4 separate regions of the Homo sapiens genome follow, and all the other regions are linked to region 1. Evidence: promoter capture Hi-C in 16 types of primary human blood cells and fetal thymus (Javierre and others, 2016). All regions are on one chromosome and are shown on one strand. The core of a region is centred on a gene start or on the middle of the fragment in contact, and the rest is flanking DNA. Distances in the headings are between cores, read along the strand shown.

Evidence for each region. Contacts are between HindIII fragments. The CHiCAGO score rates a contact against its expected background, and 5 or more counts as called.
Region 2: the fragment with the promoter of NFE2L3 here is called in contact with the fragment with the promoter of HOXA5 in region 1 in 2 of 17 cell types (endothelial precursors and erythroblasts); the score reaches 6.6 in endothelial precursors.
Region 3: a contact is called between a fragment that was not itself captured here and the fragment with the promoter of HOXA5 in region 1, in 1 of 17 cell types (endothelial precursors). The highest score is 6.1, in endothelial precursors.
Region 4: a contact is called between a fragment that was not itself captured here and the fragment with the promoter of HOXA5 in region 1, in 1 of 17 cell types (neutrophils). The highest score is 7.2, in neutrophils.

Annotation. Positions count from the first base shown.
Region 1 is chr7:27,142,290-27,144,949 of GRCh38, forward strand. HOXA5 (homeobox A5) reads right to left here and starts at 1,392. Exons shown (of 2, transcript NM_019102.4): 1 at 757-1,392. The coding sequence starts at 1,318. The region is part of intron 1 of HOXA3 (homeobox A3); the gene reads right to left. The region is part of intron 1 of HOXA-AS3 (HOXA cluster antisense RNA 3); the gene reads left to right. The HindIII fragment of the contact is 13,335 bases long and covers 1-2,660 here.
Region 2 is chr7:26,150,851-26,153,510 of GRCh38, forward strand. It overlaps NFE2L3 (NFE2 like bZIP transcription factor 3), which reads left to right and starts at 1,348. Exons shown (of 4, transcript NM_004289.7): 1 at 1,348-2,218. The coding sequence starts at 1,649. RefSeq lists silencers at 1,137-1,516, 1,537-1,606, 1,617-1,686, 1,797-2,046, 2,057-2,126 and enhancers at 1,308-2,102, 2,103-2,660, 2,247-2,436. The HindIII fragment of the contact is 3,470 bases long and covers 1-2,660 here.
Region 3 is chr7:26,195,540-26,198,199 of GRCh38, forward strand. It overlaps HNRNPA2B1 (heterogeneous nuclear ribonucleoprotein A2/B1), which reads right to left. Exons shown (of 11, transcript NM_002137.4): 2 at 2,083-2,193; 3 at 1,776-1,922; 4 at 1,268-1,478; 5 at 1,018-1,119; 6 at 862-942; 7 at 308-370. Among named protein-coding and RNA genes, the nearest start is that of HNRNPA2B1, 3.9 kb to the right of the region's middle. The HindIII fragment of the contact is 1,470 bases long and covers 626-2,095 here.
Region 4 is chr7:26,287,238-26,289,897 of GRCh38, forward strand. No RefSeq gene overlaps it. Among named protein-coding and RNA genes, the nearest start is that of SNX10, 3.3 kb to the right of the region's middle. The HindIII fragment of the contact is 6,235 bases long and covers 1-2,660 here.

The DNA of each region.
Region 1 (2,660 bases), core at 142-2,641:
ATCTGAGGCTGGGGCCGTGTCCCGGCGGACTCCGGCTTTCCCTGGCCCCTCTCCTGCCCCCTCCGCCCTGCCCCGGGCGCCCCGATCGGGAGGCACAGCCCTCCCAGGCTGCCCACCGCACAGAAACCCAGGAAGCAAGGCCCTTTCCTGAGCGCCCAAGTGGCCTTCGGGTCACCCTCCCTCAAAGTTCCAGCCCCGAGAGCCGCCTCCCGTTTCCAGCCTGCAGGGTTGGGGAGCCTGTTTTCTTTTTCTTCCCTTTCCTTCTCTCTCCCTCCTGCCCCCAAAATTCAGAATCCTGCAGGCTCTCGCCTCGATTCTTTCCCCCAAGCCCCTTTTCGGGGGCTGTAATTAGTAACGCTGTTTCCCCAGCGTAGCCCTCCTCATAAATTATCCGCCGTGACAAGCCCGATTCACGGCTGCTACAGCCATCCTCTACCTCTCTGCGCCTTGCTCGGCTGGCCTGACCCGGGAGCGCGTCCCAAGGCGTGGGGTTCCAGAGGGGTTTTTTGCTTCCTCCCCCTTCCAACGTCTAAACTGTCCCAGAGAACGCCCATTTCCCCCACTATTTGTGAGCGCAGGGTGCTCGCAAAGAAGAGGAGGAAGGAGGAAGGCAGGGGAGGGAGAACGGCAAGGAGAGCTCCGCAGGGCTGGGAGAAATGAGACCAAGAGAGACTGGGAGAGGGCGGCAGAGAAGAGAGGGGGGACCGAGAGCCGCGTCCCCGCGGTCGCGTGGATTTAGAAAAAGGCTGGCTTTACCATGACTTATGTGCAGCTTGCGCATCCAGGGGTAGATCTGGGGTTGGGCGGGCGGCGCCGGGCTCGGCTCGCTCTGCGCACTCGCCTGCTCGCTGCTGGCAGGGGCGTCCTCCTCGGCTCCGGACGCCGTGCCAACCCCCTCTCTGCTGCTGATGTGGGTGCTGCCGGCGTCGGCCGAGGCGCCGCTGGAGTTGCTTAGGGAGTTTTTCCCGCCGTGGTGGCTGTCGCTGCCGGGCGAGGGGGCCACGGCGGAGCAGGGCAGCGGATCGGGCTGAGGAGAGTGCGTGGACGTGGCCGGCTGGCTGTACCTGGGCTCGGCGGGCGCCGCGCTGGCGCTGGCAGCGTAGCTGCGGGCGCGCTCTCCGGAGCCAAAGTGGCCGGAGCCCGAGCGGCCGACGCTGAGATCCATGCCATTGTAGCCGTAGCCGTACCTGCCGGAGTGCATGCTCGCCGAGTCCCTGAATTGCTCGCTCACGGAACTATGATCTCCATAATTATGCAACTGGTAGTCCGGGCCATTTGGATAGCGACCGCAAAATGAGTTTACAAAATAAGAGCTCATTTGTTTTTTGATATGTGTGCTTGATTTGTGGCTCGCGGTCGTTTGTGCGTCTATAGCACCCTTGCACAATTTATGATGAATTATGGAAATGACTGGGACATGTACTTGGTTCCCTCCTACGTAGGCACCCAAATATGGGGTACGACTTCGAATCACGTGCTTTTGTTGTCCAGTCGTAAATCCTGCCTGATGACCTCTAGAGGTAAACTCGTGCACTAATAGGGGAGTTGGGTGGAGGCGAGGGGGGTGGCGCGCGCGCCCCGGGCGCGTGCCCGCCGCCAGTTGCCGCCGTTCAGCCGGACTCGAGCGCCACCCGCTGGAGGCAGGGCTCATCGCCCAGCTTCCGACCGGGGGCTGCAAGGGCCGGGGTCGAATTGAGGTTACAGCCCATTATGGCAAAATTATTGCATTTCCCTCGCAGTTCCATTAGGATGTACCAATTGTTAGGCCGTCAGCTGCCGATCGCGCGCCCGGCGAGGATGCAGAGGATTGGGGGGAGGTGGTGACTTGCATTTTATTTACAACAACTTTATTTCCCCCGTTTTGCAGCCCCTCTTATTTTTGTGTCGAGGTTGGGGTCGGTACTGACCGTCCTGCCAGCAGCTCTGAATTTTGAAAATACAGATATCACCTTCGGGGAAGGGGGAAAGCCATTTAGCCAATTGGAGAAATAAATCCTGCCCGCAGCAGCAGCAGCTACAATTACGGCTCTGTTTTTGCGAGCGCATGAGGGACAGTGTCCCTGCCGCTCTTAAATGACAGGCGTCTATTAAAGATAGCTTTTGTGTAGTGTTTCTCCAAGGCGAGGTCAAATTCCATACACTTTTATAACCGTAGTCGATTTTTCTTTCGTGTGAATATGGTTTTCGTGTCATTAGTTTGCGATTTGATTTGCTTACGTATCCAGCCTGGAAAATCTTCATCACAGGGTCCGGTTCCTCGAGCCAGCCGGGCCCCAAGTCGGAGGGTTCTCCTTGAACCCAGCGAGTGGGCCCAGGCTCCCTGCAGCCACAGAGGCTGCCTGGGGTCTGGGGATCCGTGGGGCGGGTTACTGGGGTCTTGCTTAGACCTCCAGGAGTAAAATGAGGGCGATAATGGAAGCATTCCTTGGCAGTGCCTAGTATCTCTGTAGTTATTTTCCACGGCTCCGAAAGACTCAAGTAAATCACAAATATAGCTGAGAGGCAAGTGGAGTCTCCCCGCTGGAGGCCCGGCGTTGCAGGCGCCCCTGGCACGTCTGGAAGCCAGGACTCTGGCGGCTCCCATGGCCCTGGGCCCCTCGTTGGGTCCTGAACGCTGCTGTGGCGGCGACGCGGGCGCTATCGGAGGCTGGGAGCGGGAA
Region 2 (2,660 bases), core at 98-2,597, 990 kb before region 1:
GAAGCAACTTTCCTCTGCTCCCCTGTTTCTGCTCCCCTGGTCCCCATTCTTTTCTCTTCTTACTACACTAGCCCAGGAGAGAGATGAGAAAGCCAGGTGGAGGGAGGGGCCTTTTAAAACAAGTCTTGCTCAACTTTTTACACAACTGCCCATTCTCAGTTGGGCATCCCCTCCTGTCCCCTTTTCTTCCAAGGAAGGGAGCTAAGGTTAGTAAAACCTACCCTTGCAAGGCCCAGTGCTGGGTACTGTGCATGGACAAAGGTGAACCAAACAGGTTCCTTGTCCTCAAGAATTTACAATGGGCAAATCAGACCGATTCTCATCTACAACACAGAGTTGAATGGGCCAACTGTTACAATGTTGGCAAACGGAGAAATCACGGTGCAACAGATGGGGGAGAGATTAATGCCAACTGGTGAAAATTCAGAGGATGTAGCTTTGGAGCTAAGCCTTGAGGGTGAGTAACACAAACAATGGGTAGCAGGGAGCACTTCCTACCCATGCAGTGCTGTGGTCGGTGGTTTACATGCATTATCTCATTTGGGGCTCACAAAAGGTCTGCTGGGGAGGTGCTATTATTAGTCTCATTTTACAGTGAGAAAACTGAGGCACAGAGAAAAGGAGAGATTTGTCCAAGGTCGCCCCTCAAGTGGAGGGGGGACTTGAACTCACTCAGGGTAACTGTAGAGCTGGTGCTGTCAACCCTCAAGGAAACAACGGATAAGGAGCAAAGGATACCGAGAGGAGGTCTAGCACTATGCAGAGCACGCCCAGAGAAGAGAGAGGGGTCTGTGAGGCTGGGACTGGGGTGTGCGGAGTGGTGGGATGACTGATCCCAATGGCAACGGTGGAATTTATATGTGAAACTCCGAACTTTACACGAAATATTTCATCTGACCTCAACACATCCCTGTTTGACAGGCTCTATGATCCCCATTTTACAGATAGCGGAACTGAGACAGAGAGGTTACTCTTGCCCACTCTGCCCGCCAAGTGTCCTCACGTTGGGGTGGAAGCCCGTTGCAAGCTGCCAGGCCCCTCGTAGCTGCCCAGTCACTCTCCGCCCAGTCTACACATCCTGTCCCTTCCCACCCAGCTACCCACCACCTAGCCCTCCACCCCAACTCCCGCCCTTGGCTTTCAGCAAGGATGGCCCAGCTCACGGCCACAGGGTGGCAAGGGGCCACTTGGTGCCCAGAACAACTTCTGCTCCCAGAAAGCCTTGCGTTCCCCGGACATAAAGAGGCTTTGAGCTCGGGGAGCCCCGCCCCGTGCGGCCCCTCCCACGGGCGCGGGCCCCGGGCGGCAGGGGGCGTGTTCCTGTCGGCTGCGCCCGCGGCCGGGGGCGGAGCTTGGCCACCGCGCCGGGCTGCGGGCGGCTGGGCGAACGGGCTCGGCGCTCAGGTGGCTCCTTCTTCGCTTCTCCCGATCCCCGGCGGTGCCAGGCACGGTGCCGGCTGCCGAGGGAACGCCTTTGTGCCCGGTGCTGGGAACCCGCGACGGCCGCCACGCGCCCCGGTCCATTGTTTCGCTTATCTGGGTTCCAGGCAGGTGCGGGCGGCGCGCGGGGTCCGCACGTGTCACCCCGGCGGCTGGGGCGCCGGGACCCGCGGGCGCCGGCAGGGGCGTTCCCGGGCGCGCGGCGGCGATGAAGCACCTGAAGCGGTGGTGGTCGGCCGGCGGCGGCCTCCTGCACCTCACCCTCCTGCTGAGCTTGGCGGGGCTCCGCGTAGACCTAGATCTTTACCTGCTGCTGCCGCCGCCCACCCTGCTGCAGGACGAGCTGCTGTTCCTGGGCGGCCCGGCCAGCTCCGCCTACGCGCTCAGCCCCTTCTCGGCCTCGGGAGGGTGGGGGCGCGCGGGCCACTTGCACCCCAAGGGCCGGGAGCTGGACCCTGCCGCGCCGCCCGAGGGCCAGCTGCTCCGGGAGGTGCGCGCGCTCGGGGTCCCCTTCGTCCCTCGCACCAGCGTGGATGCATGGCTGGTGCACAGCGTGGCTGCCGGGAGCGCGGACGAGGCCCACGGGCTGCTCGGCGCCGCCGCCGCCTCGTCCACCGGAGGAGCCGGCGCCAGCGTGGACGGCGGCAGCCAGGCTGTGCAGGGGGGCGGCGGGGACCCCCGAGCGGCTCGGAGTGGCCCCTTGGACGCCGGGGAAGAGGAGAAGGCACCCGCGGAACCGACGGCTCAGGTGCCGGACGCTGGCGGATGTGCGAGCGAGGTAGGTGCAGAGCGGGAAGCGAGCGAAGTGCGGCGTCTACGCCGCCGGGAGCCCCCGAGGCTTGTGTCGGATCTGAGCAGGGGCCACTCTCGCTGTGTCCTGGCACCCTTAGCCCCTGGTCTTTGCAGGTTCGCAGATGCTGCTGCTCTGATTCCGAATGAAGGGCTACTAGTGCTGTCGCTGTGGTTTTTAGGTGTTTAAGGAAGAAGTGGACGAAATCATCCGTTTGGTTATAGAGAATACCTTTCCTTGTGTGTGATGGCTGGCAAGAGTAGTTCGGGGATGGGGAGGGGAGAAGCAATGCCCACTGTCTTCGCTCAGTACCTCATGTACACTGGGGTGTCGTTCTCTGGGACCCGTGCCCGACCTGGACGATGTGAAGGAGGCCGTGACCTCTGGGAGGATGCATGTTTTTAAGAACGACTCTCCCGGCCTAACGCAA
Region 3 (2,660 bases), core at 111-2,610, 950 kb before region 1:
ATCCAGTATTCTGTACTTTTCCAGAGAAGCACGTACAAAGATATATCTAGATCCAATCATTTTGCTTGAGAAAAGATGAGATACTCTGATGGTTATCTTTACATTTTCATTTAAAATGGCACTCTATTCCTTAGGCTATAACAGCTAAGATGGCAAAACTACTTAGAAATAACTGGACCACTATCACCCAAGCCATTTATAGACACTAATATAAAATGTTTAAAAACTCAAAATATAAATGAAGTAAATATACGATATAGTTAAGTATTAGTCACATAAACAAACCAAAACGTAGAGGAAAACTGACCTCCAGGTCCTCCTCCATACCCATTATAGCCATCCCCAAATCCACGTCCACTGCCATATCCATCTGTTAGGGGCCAAAAAAAGATTACGTTTACTATAAACTGTTCAGCATTATTGCTAATATTCATTTTCAGTTCTCTTACTACCTCAGCACAATAATTAAGAACCGCAGAAAAGGACACACCAGTGCTACCAGTTTACCCACAAAACATGAAAGCATATAATTAAATCTACCGCCTAAATTTTGGACTCTTAACAAGTCTCAATCTTAGAGATTCCATCCTATTTATACGTAAGAATGACACTTGATGGGGGTCAAAGCTTTTCGGATGACACTTCATGTTACATTATTAATCCAGATAAATACAACTGTTATTAATACAACTCTATTAACTTCTTGTCTGGCCAAATCACAAGAGCTTGCCAGGATACAATCTATTTGAAGTCTTAGGAAAATTGACTTAGGTTGGATTTCTTGATTCTACTAATGAAAACCTAATCATATTTAAAATAAAAGCACACTCATCCTTTAAACACGTAGAACTTGAAACTCACCAGATCCTCCTCTAAAGTTACTTCCTGGTCCTGGTCCGAAATTTCCACCGCCACCACGTGAATCCCCAAAGCCAAAGTTGCCTACAATAAATGCCCCAGTTAGAAGCAAGCCCTTATATATGAACAAAAATAAAGAAGAAACAGAATTAAAATTACCTCCTCTTCCACTCCTAGAACTCTGAACTTCCTGCATTTCTTGTCTAGACAAAGCCTTTCTTACTTCTGCATTATGACCATTGATGGTATGGTATTTCTGCACTGGAATGAAAAATTCAGACTCCTTTTAAATTAAATCAACAATATTAAGCAGCTTCAAAAGTTTACCTTTCAATAAAGTTACAGATGTTAACATACACAAAATTGAATACACTGGAAAAAAACAGTACATTTGTGGTTAGACACTTACATACGATTTTATCCACAGGATCATGGTCATCAAAAGTAACAAAGCCAAAGCCTCTTTTCTTTCCAGACTGCCTATCAGTAATTATCTCAATGGTATCAATTTTTCCATATTCCTCAAAGTAATCTCTAAGGTGATGTTCCTCAGTATCTTCTTTAATTCCGCCAACAAACAGCTTCTTCACAGTTACATGAGCCCCTGGTTTTCCAGATTCCTAAAATAGTGGTGGGGTAAAAGTCATCCAAACAGAAAAAAACACAAGCATAATTCAAAGCACCCAACCGTAGTACCATACTTCGCTTGTATCCACCTTAAAACTACCAGATATAAAATAGCTTTTAGGGACCTAGCTTTTGAAAAATAAGCTAGCTTAAGAAAATGGTCCAGAAACCCAACACACCTTTAATAAGAGAAAAAATCTTGAGTTAAAACTAAATTCAGAAATAGTTTCTGATTTTCAGCAGGGCAGCGTTCTTCATGTTAATGCACAAGACAGTCATTGTTTGCTTACCTCTCTTGCTACAGCACGTTTTGGCTCAACTACTCTCCCATCAATTGAATGAGGTCTTGCAGCCATGGCAGCATCAACCTCAGCCATGGATGAAAAAGTTACAAAACCAAATCCTCTTGATCTTTTGCTTGCAGGATCCCTCATTACCTTTCAAACCAAAGGGTAAACTTTAGCATTTAATCTCATTATAGCTTATAAGTGAAGTCATAATAGAATTTTTTACTATGCTGATAGTTATTTCCTCCATGATTCACTTAACATACAGCTAAAAGACTAATATCCAGTAACAATTCAGTAATTTACATACCACACAGTCTGTAAGCTTTCCCCATTGTTCGTAGTAGTTCCTCAAACTTTCTTCTGTGGTTTCAAAGCTTAAGCCACCAATAAAGAGCTTACGGAACTGTTCCTTTTCTCTCTGCAAAGGAAAATACCATTTCAATTTTTATTTACATTTTCCTCTTTGTATGCAGGAAATTAAATTCTTAAATATGAGGTGACCTGCTGGCAGAGTACCTTTTTCCTCTCCAAAGGAACAGTTTCTAAAGTTTTCTGGGGGGAAAAAAAAAACTTACATCAAATTTAAACCATATGTTAAACTGCATATTAGTTGTGTTACACCAAAAAATTGCCTCAGCTGATCTACACAAGTTTCAAAGTCATTAATGCTTGATATAAATTTACTCAACATTAAATTATCTTAAATTATTAATTAAAAAAAAAACTTTCTAAGGAAAAATAAACAAATGTAGACCGTGATTATCAAAGGATTATTAAAGAATCTTTACCAAAAATTTCAACCCTACAACCTAAAAACGCAAATTTCTATTTTTAAACATCAGAAAATAACTCTTGGTTCATTACTTATGACCCAAAGTTTTTATT
Region 4 (2,660 bases), core at 86-2,585, 860 kb before region 1:
AGTTAATTAAAATTTCTGAACATCAAGTCCAGGCAACTTCCATTTTTACTCTCTGTGGATTTTGCAATTTTCCCAAGAGATGGAGGAAGGACAGGGGGTGGAGGTGGCTTTCCTTAGTGTATGTAACTAAGTGCACTTAGCTTCGAGACAGGAGAGATTGGAGAAAAGGATCAAGTTATAATAATAGCTACAATTTACTGAACACTTACTGTTGACCCAGCACAAGAGCTTTACCCGGGTTATTTCATTTAAACTCCACAACAGCCCTATGAAGCTGGTGTAGTAGTACATCTACCACAAATACAAGAAAGCAAAATGTTCCTCAAATGCTCCCGTTACAGCCCTAAATACAAAGAACCGAGAAGATAGTCCATAAGACACAGAATAAAATATCTTTCCCCAGCATAAGGACATTATACCAAGAGAGGCAGAAATGATTATATATATATTTTTTCTTTTTTTTTGAGATGGAGTCTCGCTCTGTTGCCCAGGCTGGAGTGCAGTGGCGCAATCTCGGCTCACTGCAACTTCCCCCTCTAGGTTCAAGCAATTCTTCTGCCTCAGCCTCCCGAGTAGCTGGGATTACAGGTATGTGCCACCATGCCTGGTTAATTTTTTGTATTTGTAGTAGAGATGGGTTTTCACCATGTTGGCCAGGTTGGTCTTGGGACTCCTGACCTCGGGTGATCTGCCCGCCTTGGCCTCCCAAAGTGCTAGGATTACAGGCGTGAGCCACCATGCCTGGCCTGGTCATAATTGTTTATGTGGTTTGTGTGTGTGTGTACGCCTCCAAGAGTAGTTCTTGTGAACAGAAAATATTGTTTTGATGCTATTTTTAGAATATTTGATTTGTTAAAGTTACAAGTTTAAGAGTATAATTATTCCTTAGTTTTTAAAGTTTTCCTAACTCTGTGGAAAAAATTTTTCTTCTGCTCTCACTCCGTAGTCAACATGGAAGGCTTCTGTGACCAAAGGTGTGGAGGTTTCTCCCCACACACCAAGCAACCAGTTAATTCTGCAGCTGTCACCAGCTGGGTGTTCTCCACCACAGTTCAATTCCTCTTTTTTTTTTTTTTGAGATGGAGTCTCACTGTTGCCCAGGCTGGAGTGCAGTGGCACAATCTTGGCTCACTGCCACCTCTGCCTCCCGAGTAGCTGGGATTACAGGCATGGGCCACCACGCCCAGCTAATTTTGTATTTTAAGTAGAGACGGGGTTTCACCATGTTGGCCAGATTGGTCTCGAACCCTTGACCTCAAGTGATCCAACCTCCTTGGCCTCCCAAAGTGCTGGGATCACAGACATGAACCACTGCGCCCGTCCCCGGTTCAATTCTGACACCACCTACCTGGAGACAGTGTCAGATCCAACAGGTTGAGGGCTCAATCCCACAAGATTGCCTCCTCCCACTTCTGATGACAATTGCAAGCTCCGCTCAGGCGGTTTTACCTGTGTTTCTGACTGATCAGCTATAAATTGGGGATCCCATGACCCCCTCCTTAGGTTCAAATAATTTGCTAGAGTGGCTCACAGAACTGTGGGAAACAGATACATTTATCAGAAAGATGGTACAAAGGATACAGATGAAGTGATGCATAGAGCGAGGCATGGGGGAAGGGGCATGGAGCTTCCATGCCCTTCTCAGGTGGACCACCCTCCATACACCTGTAAATGTTCAGCTATCCTGAAGCTCTCTGAACCCTGTCCTCTTGTGTGTTTATGGAGGCTTCATTATGTAGGCATGATTGATTAAACCATTGTTCATTGGTGATCAACTCAATCTTCAGCCCTTCCCCACCCCACAGAAATTGCGGAATGGGGCTGGAAGTACTGACCCTCTAATCAGGGTGTGGTCTTTCCAGTGACTAGCCCCTTCCTGAAGCTACCTAGGGGCTGCCAGCCACCAGTCAACTCATTAGCATACAAAAAAAATCACTTTGGAGATTCTAAGGATTTTAAGAATTTTATACCAGGAAATGGGGATGATGACCAAATACATATTTTACAATATCACACGTGATCTTATTCCATTTATAACTCTAGCAAACTTTAACAACCAAAAAGGCATTTGATTAATGTTTGATCCCATTAACTTAATCACCTCTAAACATTTTAAACTTCATTCGTGAATTTAATATATTTGTTTCCCTTGTAAAGGTCTTTAATTGTCTGATTAACAAGTAACTCAACATCTAATAAATTAAATTTATAAATGTGGTAAATCTTAAATTGTAGTGAGTGTTCCAACACTTTATTAAGTTAATAAGACTATCTTCAACTCATTAGTATCCAGCTATTAAATTACACATTTTAAAACTTAAAGTACAAGGCAAATGGTTACTCCAGTAGGCCAAGTTGTCTTACACATTAACATGCACATAGAATTCCAAATGTGCCCAGATTCCTTAAAACAAAATATTAATATTTCAGGCTTGAATCTTTCACACATCTCATACTCAATTTTCAGTCTTCTCAGGGTTAAAATGCTCATCTATTAAGAATTTTGATGTTTGTTTTTAAAAGCAATGTTATGGTGATCTTCTCAGTAGGCAGAGTTTCTTTCTTTTTTTTTTGTTTGAGAGAGAGAGTCTCACTCTGTCACCCAGGCTGGAGTGCAGTAGCGGGATCCTGGCTCACTGCAACCTCTGCCTCCCAGTGCA